3 separate regions of the Homo sapiens genome follow, and all the other regions are linked to region 1. The links are contacts of gene promoters, found by promoter capture Hi-C in blood cells and fetal thymus (Javierre and others, 2016). All regions are on one chromosome and are shown on one strand. Each heading gives the region's core, a stretch centred on a gene start or on the middle of the fragment in contact. The rest is flanking DNA. Distances are from core to core; before and after follow the strand shown.

What was found. Contacts are between HindIII fragments. The CHiCAGO score rates a contact against its expected background, and 5 or more counts as called.
Region 2: a fragment that was not itself captured here is called in contact with the fragment with the promoter of CD58 in region 1 in 3 of 17 cell types (M1 macrophages, M2 macrophages and M0 macrophages); the score reaches 8.2 in M1 macrophages.
Region 3: a fragment that was not itself captured here is called in contact with the fragment with the promoter of CD58 in region 1 in 4 of 17 cell types (M1 macrophages, erythroblasts, M2 macrophages and 1 more); the score reaches 7.7 in M1 macrophages.

What each region holds. Positions count from the first base shown.
Region 1 is chr1:116,569,690-116,573,932 of GRCh38, forward strand. It overlaps CD58 (CD58 molecule), which reads right to left and starts at 1,337. Exons shown (of 6, transcript NM_001779.3): 1 at 1,214-1,337. The coding sequence starts at 1,283. LOC124904385 (a long non-coding RNA gene) reads left to right here and starts at 1,286. Exons shown (of 2, transcript XR_007066497.1): 1 at 1,286-1,364; 2 at 4,125-4,243. RefSeq lists an enhancer at 409-468 and silencers at 939-1,008, 1,079-1,538. The HindIII fragment of the contact is 6,609 bases long and covers 1-3,575 here.
Region 2 is chr1:116,840,169-116,844,288 of GRCh38, forward strand. No RefSeq gene overlaps it. Among named protein-coding and RNA genes, the nearest start is that of PTGFRN, 68 kb to the right of the region's middle. The HindIII fragment of the contact is 154 bases long and covers 2,074-2,227 here.
Region 3 is chr1:116,880,919-116,884,783 of GRCh38, forward strand. It overlaps LOC105378927 (a long non-coding RNA gene), which reads left to right. Exons shown (of 3, transcript XR_001737804.2): 2 at 1,633-1,749. Among named protein-coding and RNA genes, the nearest start is that of PTGFRN, 27 kb to the right of the region's middle. The HindIII fragment of the contact is 245 bases long and covers 1,348-1,592 here.

The DNA of each region.
Region 1 (4,243 bases), core at 87-2,586:
CTCCGGGACTCAGGTGATTCTCCCACCTCAGCCTTCCGAGTAGCTGGGACTATAGGTATGCGCCACCACGCTCAGCTAATTTTTGTATTTTTTGTAGAGCCGATCTTTCACCGTGTTGGCCCTGCTGGTCTCCGATTCCTGGCCTCAAGTGATCCACCTGCCTCAGCCTCCCAAAGTGCTAGGATGACAGGTGTAAGCCACCACGCCCAGCCCAGGCCTCTTACAACACTGACTTATCTGATCGTGCGGGTACTTTTGAGTCTATCTCAACCCCTCCCCCTTGGCTGTCTTCCATAGATGCACACGCGCACCTCCCGGGCAGGCAGCGGACGCTGAGCAAACGGACGGACGGGCTGGAGGGCTGGCAGTGGGGTGCAGGAGCCAGCCATGAGAACCCCTCAAGTACAGTTGAACTCGCTGGGAGGTTACTGCTGTACTCCCGGGGTTTTGCTATGGCCTGACTGGGGCCAATGTGTGGAGGGTGAAGGAGGATGGGGAGGCAAAATGGGAAGAAGGGGACCTATTTCCTGAGGTTGTTGTGACGACTTGGCTGACAACACACGGAGAGGATGGAACCAGTTCTGATACTAGTTTTTAGGATTTGAGGGGAGGAAAAAGGAGCAGGAGTCGCACCACTTAGGAATCCCAACGTGAGGCCGCTGCCGACTGGGCTTCCTAGTTGCCTACCCGCTCCTCGCTGTGGGGCGATTCTGAAAAGTCCTCTCTGCTGATACGGCGGACGCCGCGCGGGCGGGGACGGCACCGCGCGGGGAGGGCAGCAGGCGTCGCCCTCGAGCAGGTGGCATCCGCGCCCGCTCCCCGTCCCGGGCGCGTTCACGGCTGGGAAAAATTTTGCAGTCCGCTGAAGCGCTCAGCGACGTTACTGGGGAAGCCCAGGAAGGAACTTGGTCACTGGAGCTCGGGAGGGGGCCGGCGGGGGGGCGCAGGCCCCGCAGGAGAGGCTAGCGGGCCGGAGCCCGTCCTTCCCTAAGGCCACACAGTTCCTTGCTGACTCCATGAGGGACACTGGCGATGAAATAACAACTTTCTCTTCCTGAAAAGGCTCCCACGGCTGAGTTGTTCCCGGCCCACAGCGACCCGTCCCCACCCGTCTCTGATCGGCAACCGCCTCGAGCCCGGCGCGTCCACCCAGCCTGGGTGCTGCCCAGTACCCGCCGGCCGGCGCGGGGCCCCTGGGGCAGGCTTCACTCACCAAAGCAGTGCAGCAGGCAGACCACGCTGAGGACCCCCAGGGCCCGCCCCGCGTCGCTCCCAGCAACCATGGCTCGTCGGGCCGGCCTCTGCGCGAGTGCCCAGCCACAAGCAGCCCTAAGTTCAAGCACCGCCTACGCGGTCGGCCAGAAGTAGGGCTCCGCCCCGCCCTGGGCTGGCAGCCGGCGGCCCGCCCCGGCCCTTCCTCCCCCACCCTCCGCGGCGCCGCGTTTGTCTTCGCGCTTCCACTCCCCGGGCGCGCCTCTGGCCTCGGCTCTGCGCGCCTCCTTCCTGTGTCCCCGGGGCGCCGTCCAGTCCCCCAGCTCGGTCCCTCCCGTCATTCCGCCGCCATTCCATACGCTATTTTTAAGTAAGAAATTCTTTCCTTGAAAATGGCTTGGTTTTAAAAACCAAGGTTTTAAAGTAAGAAATTCTTTCCTTGAAAATGGCTTGGTTTTAAAAACCAGGTTTCTCTGCCTTCCTACCGCACCTCCCGCGCTTCCCCTTAGCGTTTGGGGCGTGCTGTAGGCCCCTCCGTGGCTAGACGGGGCTGTGGCTCCCAGAGAGCCACCGGAGGAGGCAGCAGGACGGGCGGGAGCACCCGGGGCCCCTCATCCCTTCAGCGCTGTGTGATCCCGCATCAGACGGCCTCTTTGAACCACTTTTCCTCAAACATGACAAGGAAAGGGAGCATTTTAGACAACTGTTAGGCGTAGGGTTACCTGAGGCAGGCCTCCCCCGTCCCCATACTCCCTTATCCCCGGAGCTGGGATTTCCAGCCTTTGGTTTCTCCCTTCTCAGATTCCTCTTTTTCTGTCTTCCCCCATCTCAACCGGGACTTTCCCTCAGGCTGAGATGTCAGATCCACATCTCCCTCACTGCCCAGCCTCCCCACATCCATCCAGCCCAAGCTGAGGCAGGCACTCATCACTCTCCCCGCTCTTCATCAGTCTGGATTGAGCTGGCCCTCCCCTCACATCCCTATATCCCAGAACAAATGACCCTATTCCCAGAACCAGCTCCTCACATCAGCCTCCCTGTCTGTCCCCTTTCTTGCAGACAGAAGCACCAGAGTTGCCCCTGCCCAGCTGAGGGAGTTCACAGAACTCTTAGTTATTATGTGAGCAGGAATCCATTTCCATGAACAGGACTCCCTGCTGCCCAAATAACCACCAACACATACATGGTGCAGGTTGTGAAACTGAGTGGGAATGTGCTTTCTTGCTGCTTCACCTCCATTATCCCCAGGTGGGGACTCGAAGTCACTCAAGACACTTGAACCATATTGCAAAGAGACATGAATTATTTCTTAAGTTAGCCATAAAATCTTAAAAGGTATCTCTATCAGTGAAACTTCTGGGACCAATGCCCTCTACCACAAACCTGCTATCTCGAGATATTCCCTACCATCTGTAGATACTGGGAACACAAGGCAGGGGCAGTGTGTAACATAAAATATGAGGAAATCAAGTGTTCTCTGCCCTGGGCTGGTAGGAACTCAGGCCAACTTAGAAAGGCAGGATGGGGTTAGACCTTCAGACACTGGGGAGCCACAGAAAGTTTTTGAGCTGGGAAGTGATATGACAGCAAACATCTATTGAGCAGGCCCTGTGTGAAGTGCATTGCTTGGATTAACTTAGTCTTACTGCTGCTGTTGTTTTTGCAAATGAGGAAACTGATGCCTGGGGAAGGTAAATTACTCAGGGCACACAGTAAAGGGCAGAACTTGGAGTCCAGCTGAGGCCATGTCCAATGCCTCTACTCTTATCCCTTCATACAGGAACGGGATATGATAATGGGACTTTTGGACTGACAGCTATGCAGCCATTTGGACTGCCAGCAAGAGCTGTTAAGCCCCTTAAGAGCAGGGCTGAGGAAAGAACAGCCCAGTCACATGGGGCTGGGGAAGCCCCTCACCCCCAGGTCATGGTCTCCAGGTATTGGGTGAGGAATAACTCATTAGGCTTCCTTGGTTGGACTCTCCTTTGACCAAGGAGCAGTGCCTGCTCTTTCATTGAGAGAAATGCTGTCCATCAAGCACTTTTAGAAGCCCTCAAATGCCTGGTTAATTTTATGAATCAAAAGCAGCTCAGGAATGCTGGACCTGCAATGCGTTAAGCAGGCAGCCAAAAAGATTCCCTTTACATACTGAGAACCTGCTATCAAAAGGAGGGGTGGATGTATTTTTCATGCTGTGACTAGTATTGCAAGGTCCAGTTTTATCTTCTTGTCACTGTAGATAATCATGGATGAGAAAGTAAGAAAAGAGGGCAGCTGAAGAGGCCGGGGCTGTTCTTCCTAGCATGCCACTCTCTGGTGTCTTGACTCTCGTTTCTGCCAAACCTTTGGAACTACTCCCACAAAGCTTAGGAATCCCAGAATGTAGTGAGCAAAACACTGCTCAATCCTGCATAAATGCAAATTGTCATTTTCATTGCATGCCTCATGAGGGAACATACATTCATTTATATAAATACTGGTTGGATTTGCACGAAGGACATAGAAGGGTAATCTTATTCCATAATACTCTATTTCCCTTTTTAAAACATACCCTGGCAGAAAAAGAACATTAGAAAAAAATTAGGAAAAATTATACATAAGACTTAACATGGAACCATTATGGGTACCCAAGGGAGAGGCAGTCACATTTTCAACTCCTGGCCAAGCCAGCAGCTGCAAGGAGTTGATAAGGATGCAGCCAATGGTTCTGGGAGCAGAGGAAAGCACACACGAAAGCTTTTGAAAGTCTTGGATTTAGAAAAAGAAGAAAAAAAGAAGTGTCTCCCTCTGCTTCTTACTATCTAGTTCCTTTTTGCATATTCTATGAATTTTAAAGAATTATAGATGGGTTCTGACTAATCACGTATCACTGCTATGGTTTTAATCATTCTAACATTCTTCTCAATTTGCAGATGTAAACCCCTCCCAACACTGGAAGAGGAAACAGAGACCAGTGCGCTGTGCAGTCTCACTTAACTAGAATGCACAACTCCTGCTTTTATCACCATTCTGGGAAATCCCCGCTGCATTT
Region 2 (4,120 bases), core at 901-3,400, 270 kb after region 1:
AAAAAAAAAAGAACTGGAAATAAATTAATCACCATATTAATGGTGGTAATTCCCAGTTGTAAGAATATGAATGATACTTCTTTTCTTTTTTGTACTTTCTATATTTTTTAATTTTCTAAAAATAAAATGAAAAGGCATAAAAATAATAAAAGAAATGCAAACAAACTGGTTGAAACTCCTAGGGTTTCATAAATATTGTCTCATTTAATCCTCACAACATCTCTATGAGACACAAATTATTTTTCTTATTTTCAAATGGGGAAACTGAGGCTAGGGCTGTTAAACTCTTTAAGGTCATGCAGCTATAAGTGAATTAATTGGATCTTGAGCCGAGGTCTTTTGACTCTAGATTTCATGCTCCTTCTTCCACATCCCGTTGCCTCTGCAAGAACCACATATTCTTCTAACAGCTAAAATAACGGGATATGTTAGAAGGAAAGCCACTGGTCCTCTTCTGCTATTAGCCAGAATGAGTGAAGAACTTCAAACTCCAATAAGTGCCCTGGAAAGTGTAGTAGGTCATACCAGACGACGAGACAGGTGACTCAGGATACTTGACGCCTATCAAAAAATGACCAGGGCTTGCCCGCGGACTCGAGGGACCCTCAGATCAGAGCCTAGAAGAACTAGGTCCTTATTTATAAAATCTCTTCTGTATAGTACATATAATGCATAAGTATACATGCAATCTTGATCTGTCACCTACGTAGGGAAGGCCTTTGAGGTCTTTATTCCAGCTACTATTTCTGAGATATAAATTAGTCCAAAACAACACCTTAAAACTACTATATTATTTTGTGGGGTTTTTTTGTTGTTGTTTTGTTTGTTTGTTTGTTTGTTTGTTTTTGAGACAGAGTCTCGCTCTGTCGCCCAGGCTGGAGTGCAGTGGCCCGATCTTGGCTCACTGCAACCTCTGCCTCCCAGGTTCAAGCAATTCCCTGCTTCAGCCTCCCGAGTAGCTAGGATTACAGGTGCCCACCACCACGCCTGGCTAATTTTTGTATTTTTAGTAGAGACAGGGTTTCACCATCTTGGCCAGGCTGGTCTTGAACTCCTGACTTCGTGATCCACCTGCCTCGGCCTCCCAAAGGGCTGGGATTACAGGCGTGAGCCACCGTGTCCAGCCTTTTTTTAGTTTTTTTTTGAGACAGAGTCTGGCTCTGCTGCCCAGGCTGTAGTGCAGTAGCAGGATCTCGGCTCACTGTCACCTCCACCTCCTAGGTTCAAGCAATTCTCCTGCCTCAGCCTCCTGGGTAGCTGAGATTACAGGCACCTGCCCCCATGCCTGGCTAATTTTTTTAGCAGAGATGGGGTTTCACCATGTTGGCCAGGCTGGTATGAAACTCCTGACTTCAGGTGATCCACCCGCCTCTGCCTCCCAAAGTGTTGAGATTACAGGCATGAGCTACTACACCTTACCAAAACTACCATATTATTTCACTCATGATTTTGTGGGTCAAAAATTTTGAAAAGGCTGTGCCTAGGACTTCTCACTTGGCATCTCTCTTGTGGTTACAGTCAGATGTTACCTGGAGCTGAAGTCATCTGAAGATTCAACAGGACTGGATGTCCAGCATGTCTCATTCACATGATTGGCAGGTGATGGTGGCTGATTAAGCTGTCAACTGGGGAACTCACATGTGGCCTTTCCCATATAGCTAACTCAGGGTAGTTGGACTTCATACCTAGCATCTAGCTTCCCTCAGGACAAGCATCTCATAAGAACCAGGCAGTAGCTGCAAGACTTTTTCTGACATGGCTGAAGAAATCACGTAGCACACTTCTACTTCATTGTATTGGTTACAAATGAATAATTAGACAGACTAGATTCAAGGGGAAGGGAAGTAGGCTCTACCTCTTGATGGAGTAGTACAAGGTCACATTGTGAAAGAGCACACGAGGTGAAAAATGTTGTTTCAGCCACCTTTAGAACATAAAATTTGCCTCAGTCATTTAATCCAGTGTTTCCCAACCTTTGTCACCTCATAGCACACACTGAAAGCATTAATATGTATATGGCTTATGACATGTCAGTTGGAAAGCTCTGACAAGCTAACTATCTGTGATTAAGAAAGCTTCCTTTCCTTACTTTATAGCTAGTGTGCATTCAAGGGCAAGATTTCTCACATGTTTCAGGGTAATTCTTGAACTAACAGAAAAAAAACCTTCCCAGTTCTGATCCCTTTATGTTATAAGTATCTATGCTATAAGGATTTTTGTGTCCAGAAGCTTTGAGATAGTTTTTCATCTTTCCTCCTCTAAACACTAAAGGAAAGATAGCATACATTCTTTATACACTGGATCAGTTAAAAATATATGCTACCAATCAAAAAGAATAATAACTGTAGCAGATTGAACACTTCAAACATGTTTAAATTCATGAGTTCATAATGCTTTTAAAACAATTACGACAGAAATTATTAGAGTACTCTTTGGAAGTTTCCAGGACCCTAACTTATTTAGAAAACTGGAGAATAAAGGGACAGACCAAGCATTTGTCCTGCCTTTCCTGTATGAACTATGCTTCACAGTATGCCAGGTATCAATGTGCTATCTCTCAGCTCAAAGCCCACTCTTTGCTCTGCTTTGCAATTCTGGTGCTGTACCCTGTAAACATTTCTCCTATCAACAGCTGACATAATGTTAAACATTTTTGCCAGTGGAGGGTGCTGGAGGGAAATTGCAGGAGGAAGGAGTTTTTCTGGCTCAGTGTGCTTTCCTCCTTGCTCCTGCAGTGCACAACGACCAACAGTGTGGCGGATGCCCCAGTTAGTTTTAGCAGTACACTTGCGGATAACTTTTTTTTTTTGAGACGGAGTCTCACTCTGTTGCCCAGGCTGGAGTGCAGTGGAATGATCTCTGCTCACTGCAACCTCCACCTCCAGGGTTGAAGCAACTCTCCCTGTCTCGGCCTCCCAAGCAGCTAGAACTACAGATACCTGCCACCATGCCCAGCTAATTTTCGTATTTTTTAGTAGAGACCAGATTTCACTATATTGGCCAGGCTGATCTTGAACTCCTGACCTTAGGTGATCTGCACATCTTGGCCTCCCAGAGTGCTGGGATTACAGGAATGAGCCACCATGCCTGGCCTTGTGGAGAACTTTCTATCAAGCTTTGTCAGCCCCACAGTGGGCATGTGATGGTTAACACTTAGTGTGAACTTGATCGGATTAAAGGATGCAAAGTATTGTTTCTGGGTGTGTCTGTGAGGGTGTTGCCAAAGGAGATTAACATTTGAGTCAGTGGGCTGGGGAAGGCAGACCCACCCTTAATCTGGCGGGCACAATCTAATCAGCTGCCAGCGCAGCTAGAATAAAGCAGGCAGGAGAAGATAGACAAGCAGGCTTGCCGAGTCTTCTGGCCTTCTTCTTTCTCTTGTGCTGAATGCTTTCTGCCTTTGAACATCAGACTCCAAGTTCTTCAGCTTTTGGACTCTTGGACTTACACCAGTGATTTGCCAGGGGCTCTCAGGCCTTTGGCCACAGACTGAAGACTACACCGTCAGCTTCCTTATTTTTGAGGTTTTGGGACTTGGACTGATCCACCAATGGCTTCCTTGCTCCTCAACTTGCAGATGGGACTTTACTTTGTGATCACATGACTCAATTCTCCTTAATAAACTCCCTTTCATATATACATCTATCCTATTAGTCCCTCTGGAGAACCCTGACTAACACAGGGCATTTCCCTGCTTGCCAGCTCTAGCCTAAGGTACTTCAGTGAACATCTCCACTATTCAATCTCCACTCTCCATGGAACAGTCACACTCTCTCCATCATTGGGAATGAGGGACTGTCTTCCAGTTTGTTATTTCCTTGAGTGCTCTGACTGCACTCTAGAAGTAGTGGCTGTTCTCTGTTTCTGCTATTCCTGTATTCTTTAGAGTTCCTTAATCTCTATTTAATAATTTATGTTAAAATTTACCTATTTTAAGGCCAGGCACAGTGGCTCACACCTGTAATCCCAACACTTTGGGAGGCCGAGGCGGGTGGATCAATGAGGTCAGGAATTCGAGACCAGCCTGACCAACATGGTGAAACTCTGTCTCTACTAAAAATACAAAAATTAGCTGGGTGTGGTTGCAGCCACCTGTAATCTCAGCTACTAGGAAGGCTGA
Region 3 (3,865 bases), core at 220-2,719, 310 kb after region 1:
GTGTATGAGCTGGAAGAATTTCATTCTGTACTATTCATTGCTGAAGGACTTGGAAGGAATGAAATGGTGAATGGAATTGCGCTCAGAGTATTGCTGCCAAGGTGCTAGAATGGTGTATGTAACAGACACAGGCCAAGGAGGCTGAGCAGCAGACTTGCAGAGTCAACATTTTTAACTTGGTAACAGATGGCCCACTGGTCAGAGCTCAAAAGGCTTGGGCTCCGTAAACCAACAGGACCCAGGCATATGATTCAAATGTTCTCAGTAACCAGAGGGACCGCTACTGTCCACTTGCCAAGGGCTGTGGTGACATGTGTGAATATGCAAGAGACGGGAATTATTTATCTTCCCCTAACCTCGATATTTCATTAGCCTCAGATAGAGACTGCTTTTTTTTTTTTTTTTTTTTTTTGAAACGGAGTTCCGTTCTTGTTGCCTAGGCTGGAGAGCAATGGTGCGATCTTGGCTCACTGCAACCTCTGCCTCCTGGGTTCAAGTGATTCTCCTGCCTCAGCCTCCCAAGTAGCTGGGATTACAGGCGCCTGTCACCACACCCAGCTAATTTTTGTATTTTTAGTAGAGATGGGGTTGCATTATGTTGGTCAGGCTTATCTCGAACTCCTGACCTCAGGTGATCCACCCACCTCGGCATCCCAGAGTCCTGGTGTTACAGGCGTGAGCCACCGCACCTGGCCGAGACTTCTAAAACTCTGAATCACCACTGACTGTATTCCCAACTCCATCTGGACTCAGCCCTTCCGAAATAATGAGAAAACCTCCCTATCTAGGGTATGCTTAGACAAGATGAGATTCAGCTTAAACCCTGGTAATAATTATCATTCTCCCCGTATCCCGAAAGCTCAATCCTGGTTGCTAAGTCAATCCAGACAGGCAAAGGGGTTTAAGAAAGCCAGGACTAGGGAGAGACAAGTGAGGTGCCTAGTGGGCAAAATTGAAGGAGGCATCACTTGCAAGTGCCGGCCCTGCACTTGTGTGACCCTGAGAATGAGGGCCTCCTTACATTTTGTGCCCTGAGCATCTCACTTGCTCACCCTGCTGGCCTTGCCCTAATGTCGCAGCAAAGCTCTGGCTTAGTCATTGCTGTCCTTATCAACTCCCTGCCCCTGTTAGGCTTAGAATAACTAGTTGAACCTAGGTCCTTGACCTTGGCAGGTGAAGAAATGGGCCACATCCACTAAGGTAGCAGTAGTAGAAGGGCATAGGCTGATAGCCTTCACAGGACCAGGTGGAAAGTGGAAGCCCATGTTCTCCAACCAACTGTGGACAAACAAAAGGACCAAACAGCCAGAACTGTAACTTCAATACGCACTGGCACTTGTGTTTTTAAGCTTGCCGAGAGAATTAACGTTCAACAGCTGTGCGTATTCACACTGCTGAATGCATATTACACAATATTCTCAGACATTCTCCTACGCAGAGCAGCAGTATTGGCCCATCGGGTGATTCATGAGTTTCCAACACAAGCCGCCAGAGAAAGGGAGCTATCAAGATTTTGGTGATGAGAGAGAAGCTGTAGCACATGGTAAAAGAAGAAGACAAACTGGATATCTTTTCAGGCTGGATCAAGAAAAAGCTTTGACAGAATGAGACATGATTTTCCTTTATTTGAAGTGTTGCAGGTCTACGGATCTCGGTGCAATTTGTTCAGTATATGGAGCAATGCAATGAGTATTCCAACCCTGAACAGCTGGGAAAGGAGAAAGATGTGAAAAATGAGGAGGGATCCAGGTGAGTTCACACTTGAATAATAGATTCTCTTGGTAATAAAACCACAGAGAGAGCCAGTGCTTGCCCAGATCTAGAGCTATCAAGAACTCCATTGAAACTCTACCGGCTTACAGTTCCTTCTATGCCACCTTAAGCACACCTATTCTGAGAGCATGGCTCTCCTTTTCTGTTGTCTGAGTCAGTGGCTGCCAACACAGGTGTGTGCACACAAATCTATTGGGGTACCAAAAAAAGAATTATATTTAATAATTATTTGTCTTCATCTGGCTAAATTTCTATTCTTGAATAGGTTTTAGGATGTACATCATATATTAGTACAGCAGTGATAAGTATTCATTTTGACAGAAAAATGCTAAAAAAAAATTCATACTAATGGGTCACATGATCAAAAATGCTTGGAAGAAGGCCAGGCGTGGTTCCTCCTTCCTGTAATCCTAGCACTCTGGGAGGCAGAGGCAGGTGGATACCTGAAGTCAGGACTTTGAGACCAGCCGGCCAACATGGCAAAATCTCATCTCTACTAAAAATACAAAAATTAGTCGGCTATGGTGGCATGAGCCTGTAATCCCAGCTACTCGGGAGGCTGAGGCATGAGAATCACTTGAACCAAGGAGGCGGAGGTTGCAGTGAGCCAAGATCACACCACTGCACTCCAGCTTGGGTAACAGAAGGACTCCATCTCAAAAAAAAAAAAAAAAAAAAAAAAGCTTGGAAGTCACTAAGCAAGAAACTCCTGACTGGGCGCAGTGGCTCACATCCATAATTCCAGCACTCTGCAGGGCTGAAGTGGGAGTATTGTTTGAGGCCAGGAGTTCAAGACTAGCCTGGACAACACAGTGGGACCCAGTCTCTATACACAGTGGGACCCAGTCTCTATAAAAAATTTAAAAATTAGCCGGATATTGTGGCACACACCTGTGGTCTCAGCTACTCAGGAGGCTAAAGCAGGAGGATCACTCAAGCCTGGGAAGTCAAGGCTGCAGTGAACCATGACTGTGCCACTGCACTCCAGCGTGGGTGACAGAGTGAGACCCTGTCTCAAAAAACAAAACAAAAAGAAACTCCTTAGCTTGATGTTCTGGGCCCTCTGCAACTTGCTTATTCAACCTCCCCTCCTGCTATTTCATCCCTATACTACCCACTGTAATAAAATGGATCTGGTCATCCAGTAATTCCTGTTTTTTTTTTTTTTAAACTTCCTCTCTCTGTATCTTGGCTGCTGGAATACCAGCAAATGAGGAGAGCTAATGAAGTCTCTTGGATACATTGAGCCTACAATCATTTTACTAGCAGAAATTTCAGCCCTGTCCAGGATACCCCTTCCTAGATAAGCTCTCCAGGGATAACTATCTTGTTCATAATTCTCAGTGAAACAACCTACTGCTGTCTGCCAGAGAGAAGTGGTGGCTCAGATGTATTCAACTTTCTTTCTTTTTTTTTTTTTGAGATGGAGTTTCACTCTTGTCACCAAGGCTGGAGTACAATGGCGCAACCTCAGCTCACTGCAACCTCTGCCTCCCAGGTTCAAGTGATTCTCCTGCCTCAGCCTCCCCAGTGGCTGGGATTACAGGCACGTGCCACCACGCCTGGCTAATTTTTGTATTTTTAGTAGAAATGGGGTTTCACCATGTTGGCCAGGCTGGTGTCAAACTCCCAACCTCAGGTGATCTGCCCATCTCGGCCTCCCAAAGTGCTAGGATTACAGGCATGAGACACTGTGCCCAGCCAGATGTTTTCAACTTTCATGAACAAACATTACAACTACTGCCACCCCCACTGGCAGCTATCCCCACTGCTTGGTAGACTAAAGACATCAACATCATTGGAATTAATACTAACTGTGTACCCTGCCACACCAGTGTTGGTGCTAAGACCTTGGCAATACAAAGGAAAAATGATTCCAGGAAGTACAGTATGGAGATCCAGAAAACACCCTCTATCTCTATAATTTACTCAGCCAGGGATTTCCCAAAGCCAAACTGCTGGTAGCAAGGGTGCTGCATGTTTCTGTAGTTTGTACATGGCACAGTGGTGCCAGGCAGGCAGTGGATCAAGCCCTCAATCCAGGGACTTTTCTTAAGGTATCCTAAGGCAGATTGCATTTTCCAAAGATGGC